3 separate regions of the Homo sapiens genome follow, and all the other regions are linked to region 2. Evidence: promoter capture Hi-C in human tissues and cell types (Jung and others, 2019). All regions are on one chromosome and are shown on one strand. The core of a region is centred on a gene start or on the middle of the fragment in contact, and the rest is flanking DNA. Distances in the headings are between cores, read along the strand shown.

What was found. Contacts are between HindIII fragments. The study calls those that stand out against the background at their distance.
Region 1: a contact is called between the fragment with the promoter of SLC26A6 here and the fragment with the promoter of DALRD3 in region 2, in 1 of the 25 tissues and cell types used here (psoas muscle).
Region 3: a contact is called between a fragment that was not itself captured here and the fragment with the promoter of DALRD3 in region 2, in 1 of the 25 tissues and cell types used here (bladder).

What each region holds. Positions count from the first base shown.
Region 1 is chr3:48,633,757-48,637,162 of GRCh38, forward strand. It overlaps SLC26A6 (solute carrier family 26 member 6), which reads right to left and starts at 1,705. Exons shown (of 21, transcript NM_022911.3): 1 at 1,615-1,705. The coding sequence starts at 1,637. CELSR3 (cadherin EGF LAG seven-pass G-type receptor 3) reads right to left here. Exons shown (of 35, transcript NM_001407.3): 35 at 2,707-3,406. RefSeq lists silencers at 1,144-1,243, 1,634-1,913. The HindIII fragment of the contact is 9,287 bases long and covers 743-3,406 here.
Region 2 is chr3:49,017,157-49,020,319 of GRCh38, forward strand. It overlaps DALRD3 (DALR anticodon binding domain containing 3), which reads right to left and starts at 1,424. Exons shown (of 12, transcript NM_001009996.3): 1 at 1,244-1,424; 2 at 867-1,162; 3 at 457-713; 4 at 278-357; 5 at 72-200. The coding sequence starts at 1,408. It overlaps MIR425 (microRNA 425), which reads right to left and starts at 3,078; the gene lies at 2,992-3,078. RefSeq lists an enhancer at 200-971 and a silencer at 420-654. The HindIII fragment of the contact is 18,150 bases long and covers 1-3,163 here.
Region 3 is chr3:48,758,321-48,761,512 of GRCh38, forward strand. The region is part of intron 8 of PRKAR2A (protein kinase cAMP-dependent type II regulatory subunit alpha); the gene reads right to left. Among named protein-coding and RNA genes, the nearest start is that of IP6K2, 43 kb to the left of the region's middle. The HindIII fragment of the contact is 4,310 bases long and covers 1-3,192 here.

The DNA of each region.
Region 1 (3,406 bases), core at 455-2,954, 380 kb before region 2:
TATTCCAGCCCCCAGCTGGCATCTGTGGGCCACATGTCCAAACTCAGACAGGGGCAGTACCTGAACTTTGGCTGGTGAGAAAGCCTCTTTCTAGGACAAAGTCCCCCAAGTAGGGACTGCAGGATGAGCACTAGCTATACCTCCAGCCGAGATGTGGCAGCCCAGTGCTGAGTGTTCTACCAGTCCAGGTCCCAGGCTGCTCCCTCCCCCACCCAGTCCCTCTCCAGTCCCCAGGTCCTCCTCCAGCTGCCCCGGGAGCCCACTGCTGGCTGAGAGCACACTCAGGGAAGGGGTCCAGCAAACCAGGGGTCCAGCTCCTCAAGCAACTCCTTTCCCAAGCCTCAGGCCTCAGATGAGACCCTCCCCTCTAAGGGAAGGAAAGTGTTGGAGCCAAGCTTGCCCCTGGGCCTCCAGCCCCAGGGTCCAGGTTGTAGACGGCTCAGGCCTGTTATGGGGAAGCCAAGGACTGGCTCTCACCTGAGAAGGAGCTTGCTCTTGGAGTGGCAATCTCTCACCTAGAGGGAGAGGCTCCCACATGGAAAGGGAAGTACCCACTTGAAGTGGGGGAAAGAGCTCACCTGGGAATAGAAGCTTTCAAGGGGAATCTCACCTAGAGGGATCTCTGACCTACCAGGGAATCTTTATCAGCCTGGCAAGTTCTGATACAGGGGGAATCTTCCCTCTGCCCAGAGGCACCTACTTGAAGTCAGAGAAAGATCTCACATGGGAAGAAAAGACCTAGAGGGAGAGGGTTCTCACCTGGGGGGTACTCTCCCATAGAGAAAGCTCTGACCTCGGGCGAGGCTCCCACGTGGAATGGGGAAAAGCTGTCACCTGGGAATAGATCTCACAGAAGGATCTTACCTGGGGGAAAACTCTAGCCTGTTGGGGAAGCTTTCACCAGTCAGGAAAGTTCTGATCTAGGAAAAGCCCTGACCTGGGGAGAGGATCCCATTTGAGGGACAGGAACTCACCTGGGAAGCGCCTCTAACCTGGCTGTACTGTTGGAGGAGTGTGGAGTGGGTGCAAGGAAGATCCTCAGAGACTCTTGGGACCGCTATCTCAAGGAGATCGTAGAGCCCCCTCTCCTTTCCTACGTGAGTCACTCAGGTCTTCTTAAAGGGCTCCCTCCCCCGACAACTTGGGACCCGCGTTTGGAGGGCGGAGCCTTGATCATTGGCCCCTCCCTGTAGGAAGGCAACTGGGGCCAGAAAGGCCGGAGCGCTCACTCCGGGATCAGTGGAGCTGGGTGGACTCGGGACTCAGCTGAAAGCAGCTAGTCCACGGGCCGCTGCCAGGGACTCCCGTGCCCCACGCACCCCCGCCGGCACATCTCCTGGCCGGGCTCCTCCGCACGCAGCTGCCTCCCTGTGGCCCGGGATGGCCCTCGGGCGTCACACCAGCGGCTTTCCGCACAGCCCAAGGGACTGGGGTCGCGCCGGCTCCCGCCCCCACCCCTTGCTGCAGAGGGGCAGCCGCCTGCAGAAAATCAGCAGAGGTAAACCGAGGCGTCGCAAGCGGAGAATGCCTGCTCCAGCGAGGCGTCGCAAGCGGAGAATGCCTGCTCCAGCGAGGCGCTCGCGCGGGGCCACCGGGAATGTGCGCTGAACTCACCCCGACGCATCCGCCAGCCCCATGGCTCGCAAGTTGTCCGGTGCGGGCTGCTCCTGCTGCTCGAGCTAGAGGCCGCTACGCTCCGGAAGGCGGCGCCGGGACCGGGTGAGGCCAGCTGCGCTCTCCCGGGGGCTAATCCCGGGGCAGGACGGGGAGGCTTGGGCCAATCAGCGCGCTGGGGCGGGGCCTAAGTGGCGCGCGCCGGGCGGGGAGAGACTGGAGAAGGAGGATTTAACCGCTTCCTCCCCGGCGACCTGGCCTATGAGGCCTCTCGCTGCTCGCCCGGCCCTCTGCCCGGAGCTGGATGGGACTGCAGAACTGGAACTAAGCACCCGCGCCGGGCTGGCCGCAGTCGCGCCCCCAGGCCCTGAGTAGGTTGGAGCTGATCCCAGGTCCTGGCTCGGCGGAAGGTGCTCACGGAGTGGGAAAAGGAAACTCCACTGGCCGGTGACCCCAGCCTTAACTCGTAGGGGATCCAGGTCTGTGGGGCCTCTCTTGCCTTCAGCTGAGAGCGCCACCCGCAGGCTTTCTGCGACTACGCATCTCTTTGAGACCCGGAGCCAACGGTCCCCAAGTCCTCCCCTTTAACTCTGGCCACCCAGGCCAGAAATGGTTGGAGGATCCCCTCCGCTGCACTAAGCACAGCCCGGACGTAGCTCCCAGAAGGTTACTGCGCGGGCCGCCGAGGAGAATGGTGGGGGTCAGTGCTGTTGGGTGGGCGTCAGTGCTGTTGGGTGGGCAAGGCAGGAACTGCAAGAGCAGTTCCTCAGGTTGGTTTCACCGCAGGTGAGGGCAAAAAATGCCGGGTCAGGGCTGCAGACCCTGAAGAATTAGGAAGTCCTGTTGCCGTTGCCTTGACCAGCGGGGAGGTTTTCCTTAGCACCTTATTTTCAGCACCTGTGCTCCAACATCAGGCCCCAATTACAAAGTGAGGGGCCAGATTTCAAGGTGAAAGAGATCTGCCATGAAATGGGCTAAAAATAGCTGGATATTCTTGGGAGGGGCTCAGATTCCTCCCAAAGGTCAGTCTGGCTTGAATCATTCACAGCTTCCATCCTACCTCCCCAGCCCCCAACAGGAAAAGGCAACAACTGTTTTCTATAGAAGTTTATTCCCAAAACAGAGCGCGGCTTCACGGAACAATTTACACAGACAGGAAAGAGGGCCGCTGGGCTGGAGGAGGGGAACCCCAGAGAGGGGCATCTACGAAACCTAGGACATAGTAAAGACACCCTCCCACCCCCAGCAGGCCACTCAGCCCTTCAAGAGCTGGGGTCCTTCTCGGTAAGGAGAGTTTGGGTCCTGGCTGGTGGGATTTAGCTCCAGTCAGGGAAGTAGAATTTCTAATCTCCCAGGAAGCTGCTTCCCAAGAGTATGCATGGGGTGGTGGGTGAGGAGGTGTCTGCACAGACCACCCCCCAGCCCTGCACAGCCACTCTCCCCCGTGGTTAGAGGACGCCTACTCTCAAGGTCTTCTGGATCTGCTGTTAAACGGGACTCAAGGCTGACCTTCGGCCTGGGAGACCTGGGGGTTAGAAAACCCCTCAAGATGGCCAGGTCAGGGTCCTCACAGGTGGGTCCTCCAAGTCCCTCTCCCACTTTCCCTACCTTTCACTTGGAAACAAAGGAAAAAAAATTATCTACTGTAAACAAAGTGTAAAACTCAAAGTTTTGAGTTGTAAACAAAGTAAAAACATTTTTTGAATCTGGACTTGTAAACAGTAACAAAATTTTAAAGTCTTCAGTTCTGGACAGCAGACAAAATAGCAAAAGTAAGAGTTTTGTGAACAGG
Region 2 (3,163 bases), core at 174-2,673:
GGTGGGTTTTCAAGGGCCCTCTGAGGTTGGGGGTTAGGTGGTGGGGAGCTCCACCATCATTATTAACCTACCTGTCTGAGTGGAGCCTTGTCAACCAACTTCTGCCAAAGCAGGTCCAACTTCTGTTGCTGGAACTCCTCCTCACAGCTAACAACATGTACAACCAGGCAGCCGCCTGTACCAGTATCTGAGGCCCCAGCCTAAGGGAGGACAATCATAACTGTGGAAGTACAGTATACTTGGTTTGGGAGAACCTACAGGGCTGGGAGTCACTAACCAGGCCTGGGTGGCTGTCCTCGGGCCAATGCCATAGAGCCTCTTGCAGCTCAGCCAGCACAGAGAGGAGATCCTCAGTCACTGAAAAGAGAACAGACAGGTGCTGAGACTGACAAGAAGCAGAGATGTGCCCCTAACCCCCTCCTGCCTTTTCTGGCCCTGCTAGGCTTCAGGTCCTACCCAGACAGTTGTCCAGGTTGGGGTCATAGCCAGCTGTGCGGCCCTGTTCTTCCACCAGCTCCTTCAGACACAGTCTGCCTAGGATGCCAGGGGACAGTGTCCTCCCGTCATTAGCAGAGGTAAGTTCTTCAAGGGCGTGGCTCCTCAGGGTGTGGGAGGAAGCTCTCTCCGAGGCAGCGGGCCAGTCCACCCGCAGTTGCTGCAGGAAGGTCAGCATGTGCGGATCCCGCACAGCTGGCACTAGGCGCACGCACACCCTGCGAAGGGAGGGCGGCCGCCTCAGTCTGAGCACCTGGTCCAGCTCGCCACGACTTCCCACCTCCAGCCGCAGTCCCCACGGGCGGCGCCGCTCGCTTTCTAGGTACCCGGCAGTCCCACTTTCTCCATTCCGGCCCCGCGGCCCCGCTCACCCGTGAGCGCGCAGGGCTCGCGCCAGGTGATCGGCCACGAGCACCGTACGCAGCTGGCTCAAGCGGAGTGCGCAGGGGGAGCTGCGCAGTGCTGGGCAGTGTAGTAAGACGCGCTGGCCCAGCGAGGCAGGCGAGGCGGGCGTGGCATAGGCGGCCACGGCGCTGAGGACGCGCTCGAAGACGGCGGACCGCTGCAGTTGGAGAGACAGACCCGCGGGGGTCGGCGCGCAGCGCAGCACCGGGGCCACACCGGGGCCCTGCAGGCAGGCGAGGGCATGGAGCAAATGCTCCGGAACCTGCGGGAGAACGGGCGTGTAAAAGAGCCACGGCACGGGGCCCATCTCCCGGCCGCACGGCCCCGCCCGGCTCACGCCCACCTGGCCGTCATCGAAGCGCGCCTGCAGCGCGCGGTGCGGTGCCAGAAAGTCTCGGGAACGCAGGTGGCGGGTGCGCGTCTCCTTGATCCACACCGGACCGCCTGGCCCCAGGGCCGCGTTGAGGGCCCCCAGCGTCTCCCCGACCCCAAGGCGCCTGGTCGCCATGGTGACCGGAAGGAGTAAGCGGAACCGGAAAAAAATTTAGGGAGGTGGAACTTCCGGAAAGGACCGACTAGCTGGGGCGGGGATGCGGCGGTGGTCCCCGTAAGTGGACAGGTGCGCCAGTGGTAGCCCTGTCGGCTGCTTTCGACCTACCGCCCCCAGCGCCCCTTCCGCGTGGTCCACCTGCACAGCCGGGCCCCGGATCTGAAATCTCGGGGCCCTCCCTGGGCCTAGGGTTCTTTCGCTGTGACCCAGGCCTTAACCAGGAAAAGGATCCTCGCGACCCGGTGGGCGCTTAGACCGGGTACCGTCTCTTCTCATCGAAGTCTCACATGTTTGTTTTAATAACATTTCATTTCTCCCATTTTACACATGATGAATATTCGTCACTGGAATAAGGCAGTATAACATTAAGGCCACTTTCACGACCTACTTAAAATATCTCGTTTTAAAAAGAATAGTGTTCCGCGGTTTCAGGTTATTTGCAAGCATTTTCTCGTTTGAGATATGGGTGTTTTTTTGTTTGTTTGAGACGGAGTCTTGCTCTTGTCTCCCAGGCTGGAGTGCAGTGGCACGATCTCGGCTCACTGCAGCCTCCACCTCCCGGATTCACAGGATTCTCCTCCTCAGCCTCCCGAGTAGCTGGGATTACGGGCGCCCGCCACCACGCCCGGCTAATTTTTGTATTTTTAGTAGAGACGGGGTTTCGCCATGTTGGCCAGGCTGGTCTCGAACTCCTGACCTCGTGACCTGCCCGCCTCGGCCTCCGAAAGTGCTGGGATTACAGGCATCAGCCACTGCACCCAGCCCGGGTGGTCTTTATGCCCAATAAATAAGCACTCTGATACAGTTGGCGGTTTTCTTCTCTTGATACCTGAGAAATCACAACCATCATGATGGCTTCCAGAATTACCAGACTTTTTTTTTTTTTTTTTGAGACGGAGTTTCGCTCCTGTTGCCCAGGCTGGAGTACAGTGGTGTGATCTTGGCTCACCGCAACCTCCCCCTCCCGGGTTCAAGTGATTATCCTGCCTCAGTCTCCCAAGTAGCTGGGATTACAGGCACGCGCCACCACGCCCGGCTACTTTTGTATTTTTAATAGAGACGGGGTTTCTCCATGTTTGTCAAGCCTCGAACTCCCGACCTCAGGTGATCCGCCTGCCTCGGCCTCCCAAAGTGCTGGGATTACAGGCGTGAGCCACCGCGCCCGGCTCAGAATGACCAGCTTTTAATGTGACTCCTTTAACCTGGTGTGCTTTAACAACGATCCTTAAAGCTTCCTGTTTTAGGCAACAGCCATTTACGGGCCAACCAAATAATGCGACCATAATAGAAAATAGGCCTCAGTTGGAGTATCTTGCTCCTCTACCAATAGGAAAGGTCTTTTTCTTTCTCCCACAAAGGTTCCCAAATGTCTTCATTTCACTGTAACTTACTCACCCCCCACCCCACCCCCATTCCTTTTAATAGAGAAGCTAACTCAGTAGAGAGAGTTGGGAAATCCGGAGAGCAGGGAAACCCAGGGGCAGGAAAAGCTTGGCAAGGCCCCTTTCTGGGCCAGGGCTGAGGCCCTGCTGGGAGGCGCCGAAAGAGCACTGGGCGGACACGACATTCCCGATGGCTTCTCGGGTGCCCACTCAACGGGAGTGATCGTGTCATTCCAAAGCGCTTTCCATTCTGAAGGTGCATGACCTGGAGACAACTGCTTAGCAGGGTTGGGAACCCTCAGTCAAACTGAGGACTTCAGATACTCTCATC
Region 3 (3,192 bases), core at 434-2,933, 260 kb before region 2:
ATAATCCTAGCACTTTGGGAGGCCACGGCAGGCAGACTGCCTGAGCTCAGGAGTTCGAGACCAGCTTGGGCAACATGGCGGCGAAACCCCATCTCTACCTAAACTACAAAAAATTAGCCAGGCGTGGTGGTGTGTGCCTGTAATCCCAGCTACTCAGGAGGCTAAGGCACGAGAATCGCTTGAACCCAGGAGGTGGAGGTCGCAGTAAGCCGAGATTGTGCCACTGCACTCCAGCCTGGGCGACAGAGCAAGACTGTCTCAAAAAAAAAAAAAAAAAAAGAGAAAAGGAAAACAAAATGAAGAAGACAGCAGAGACTAGGGTATGTGTACAGGATAAGAATGACTTAGGGCCTGAGGAGAATGAACAGGGGAGCTCATATAGAATAGAAGCTGCTAATGTTGCTGTGTGCTCACTCCCAGCAGGCTCTCTGGTGAGTACTTTATGTGTATCATTTCATTTTTTTTGCCAAAGAAGTCTAAGAAAGTAGGTACTATTACTATCCAATTTTGTGGATGACTTTCCTCAGAAGCCTGGGGGATAAATAATCTTTCCCTAGCAGGTAGCGTGAGTAGTTGGTAGATTCAGGGTTGAGAGGAGATGGGAAAGAATGTCATCTAGAATACATGAGAAACAAAAAGCCTTGGTTCACCTCTTCCTCTGGACCAAATGAAGGACAGTGAAAGGACTTTGGTCCATTAAATTTTACTGATTTGGTAATACTTCACTACAATGGATTATGATAATGTGAAACAATGCAAGGGGATAAAATTTAAAATAAAACCATGTTTTGATGATTTTAACCATCAGCTGAAAACAGTTGATCTTTGTGGCAGTTAAGGGATGCACTCTTTTGCATTTCCAATCTCATGAAACAGCCTGGTTAGGCTGGGACAGGCTAAATGTGTGGGCCAAGACACACATTTCCTGTTTCCATGCTGTCCAGTGGTGGATATTCTGGGTATACTGGCTGTTCAGGCTTTGTAGGACTGCTGTCATTTTGCAGGGTAGAATGAGATGACTACCCAGTTGGAAAAGAGAGCTCACTGGAAGAGCATCCTGCCCCTTTTTTTTTTTTTTTTTTTGAGACGGAGTTTCACTCTTGTTGCCCAGGCTGGAGCGCAATGGCGCGATCTTGGCTCACCACAACTTCTACCTCCTGGGTTCAAGTGATTCTCCTGCCTCAGCCTCCTGAGTAGCTGGGATTTACAGGCACGTGCCACCACATTCAGTTAATTTTGTATTTTTAGTAGAGACAGGGTTTCTCCATGTTGGTCAGGCTGGTCTCGAACCCCCAACCTCAGGTGATCCGCCTGCCTCGGCCTCCCTAAGTGCTGGGATTACAGGCATGAGCCACTGCGCCCGGCCAAGTATCCTGCTTTTCAAGTTCACTAATAGGCTCTGTGTACACATCTCACAGAAAGAACATTCCATTCTACATTCAACAGTAAAGAAGCCAGACTGTACTGCATTTTAGGTCTTTGTGAACATGTCATCAGGTTCTTATATGTCTCTTTTTCACAACAGATAATATAAGATCCACATTCCACCATAAGAATGACTGAAGCCCTAATTTTCAGGATATGGGAATCTTTTTGGTTTAATGCAATGGTACTTTAATAGCAAAAACATAAAACATGATTTTGTAAAACTAAAGCCACCTTCTGTCTACATTACTCTAAGAATAAGCTAAATATTCTATCAATCATGAAAATTACTTGTGAAAATTATACAAGTCATTAAAAAACAAAAATGTAGGCCAGGTGTGGTGGCTCACGCCATCCCAGTACTTTGGAAGGCCAAGGCGGACAGATCACCTGAGGTCAGAAGCTTGAGACCAGCATGGCCAACAGGCAAAAACCCTGTTCTCTACTAAAAATAAAAAAAAATTAGCCGGGCATGGTGATGCATGCCTGTAGTTCCAGCTACTCGGGAGGCTGAGGCAGAAGAATCACCTGAACTGGGGAGGTGGAGGTTGTAGTCAGCCGAGATTGTGCCATTGCACTCCAGCCTGGACAACAAGAGCAAGACTCTGTCTCAAAAAACAAAACAAAACAAAACAAAACACAAAAATGTAGTCAGGTATGGTGGCACAAGCCTGTAATCTTAGCTACTTGGGAGGTGAGGTGGGAGGATCACTTGAGGTCAGAAGTTCAAGACCAGCATGGGCAACATAGAGAGGCCCTGTCTCTACAAAAAATTTAAAAATTAGCTGGGTGTAGGCCGGGCGCAGTGGCTCACACCTGTAATCCCAGCACTTTGGGAGGCCGAGGCTGAGGTGGGCGGATCACCTGAGGTAGGGAGTTCACAGACCAGCCTGACCAACATGGAGAAACCCTGTCTTTACTAAAAAAAAAAAAAAAAAAATTAGCTGGGCATGGTGGTGCATGCCTGTAATCCCAGCTACTCAGGAAGCTGAGGCAGGAGAATCGCTTGAACACAGGAGGCGGGGGTGGTGGTGAGCTGAGATCGTGGCATTGCACTCTGGCCTGGGCAACAAGAGCAAAACTCCGTCTCAAAAAAAAAAAAAAAAAAATTAGCTTAGTGTGGTGGCATTACTTGGAAGGCTAAGGGAAGAGTATTGCTTGAGCCTAGAAGTTCAAGGCTGCAGTGAGCTATGATTGCACACTGTACTGAAGCCTGAAAGACAGAGTGAGACCTTGCTTCTAATAAACAAAAACAAGGCTGAGTGCAGTGGCTCACACCTGTAATCCCAGCACTTTGGGAGGCAGAGGAAGGAGGATCACGAGGTCAGGAGACTGAGACCATGCTGGCTAACACGGTGAAACCTGTCTCTACTAAAAACACAAAAAATTAGCCGGACGTGGTGGCGGGCGCCTGTAGTCCCAGCTACTTGGGAGGCTGAGGCAGGAGAATGGCGTGAACCCAGGAGGCGGAGCTTGCAGTGAGCCGAGATCACACCACTGCACTCTAGCCTGGGTGACAGAGGGAGACTCCATCTCAAAAAAACAAAACAAAAACAATAAAAATAACTCAAAATGGATCACAGACCTAAGGTAAGAGCTAAAATTCTGACTGTCTAGAGCTGTACTGCTCAATACATTAGCCACGAGTCAAATGTGGCTGAGCACTTGAAATGTTGCTAGTATAAACTTAGATGTGCTATAGATGGAAAACATACATTAGATTTTGAAGACAGTATTAAAAATGTAAAATATCTCATTAATAAAGTT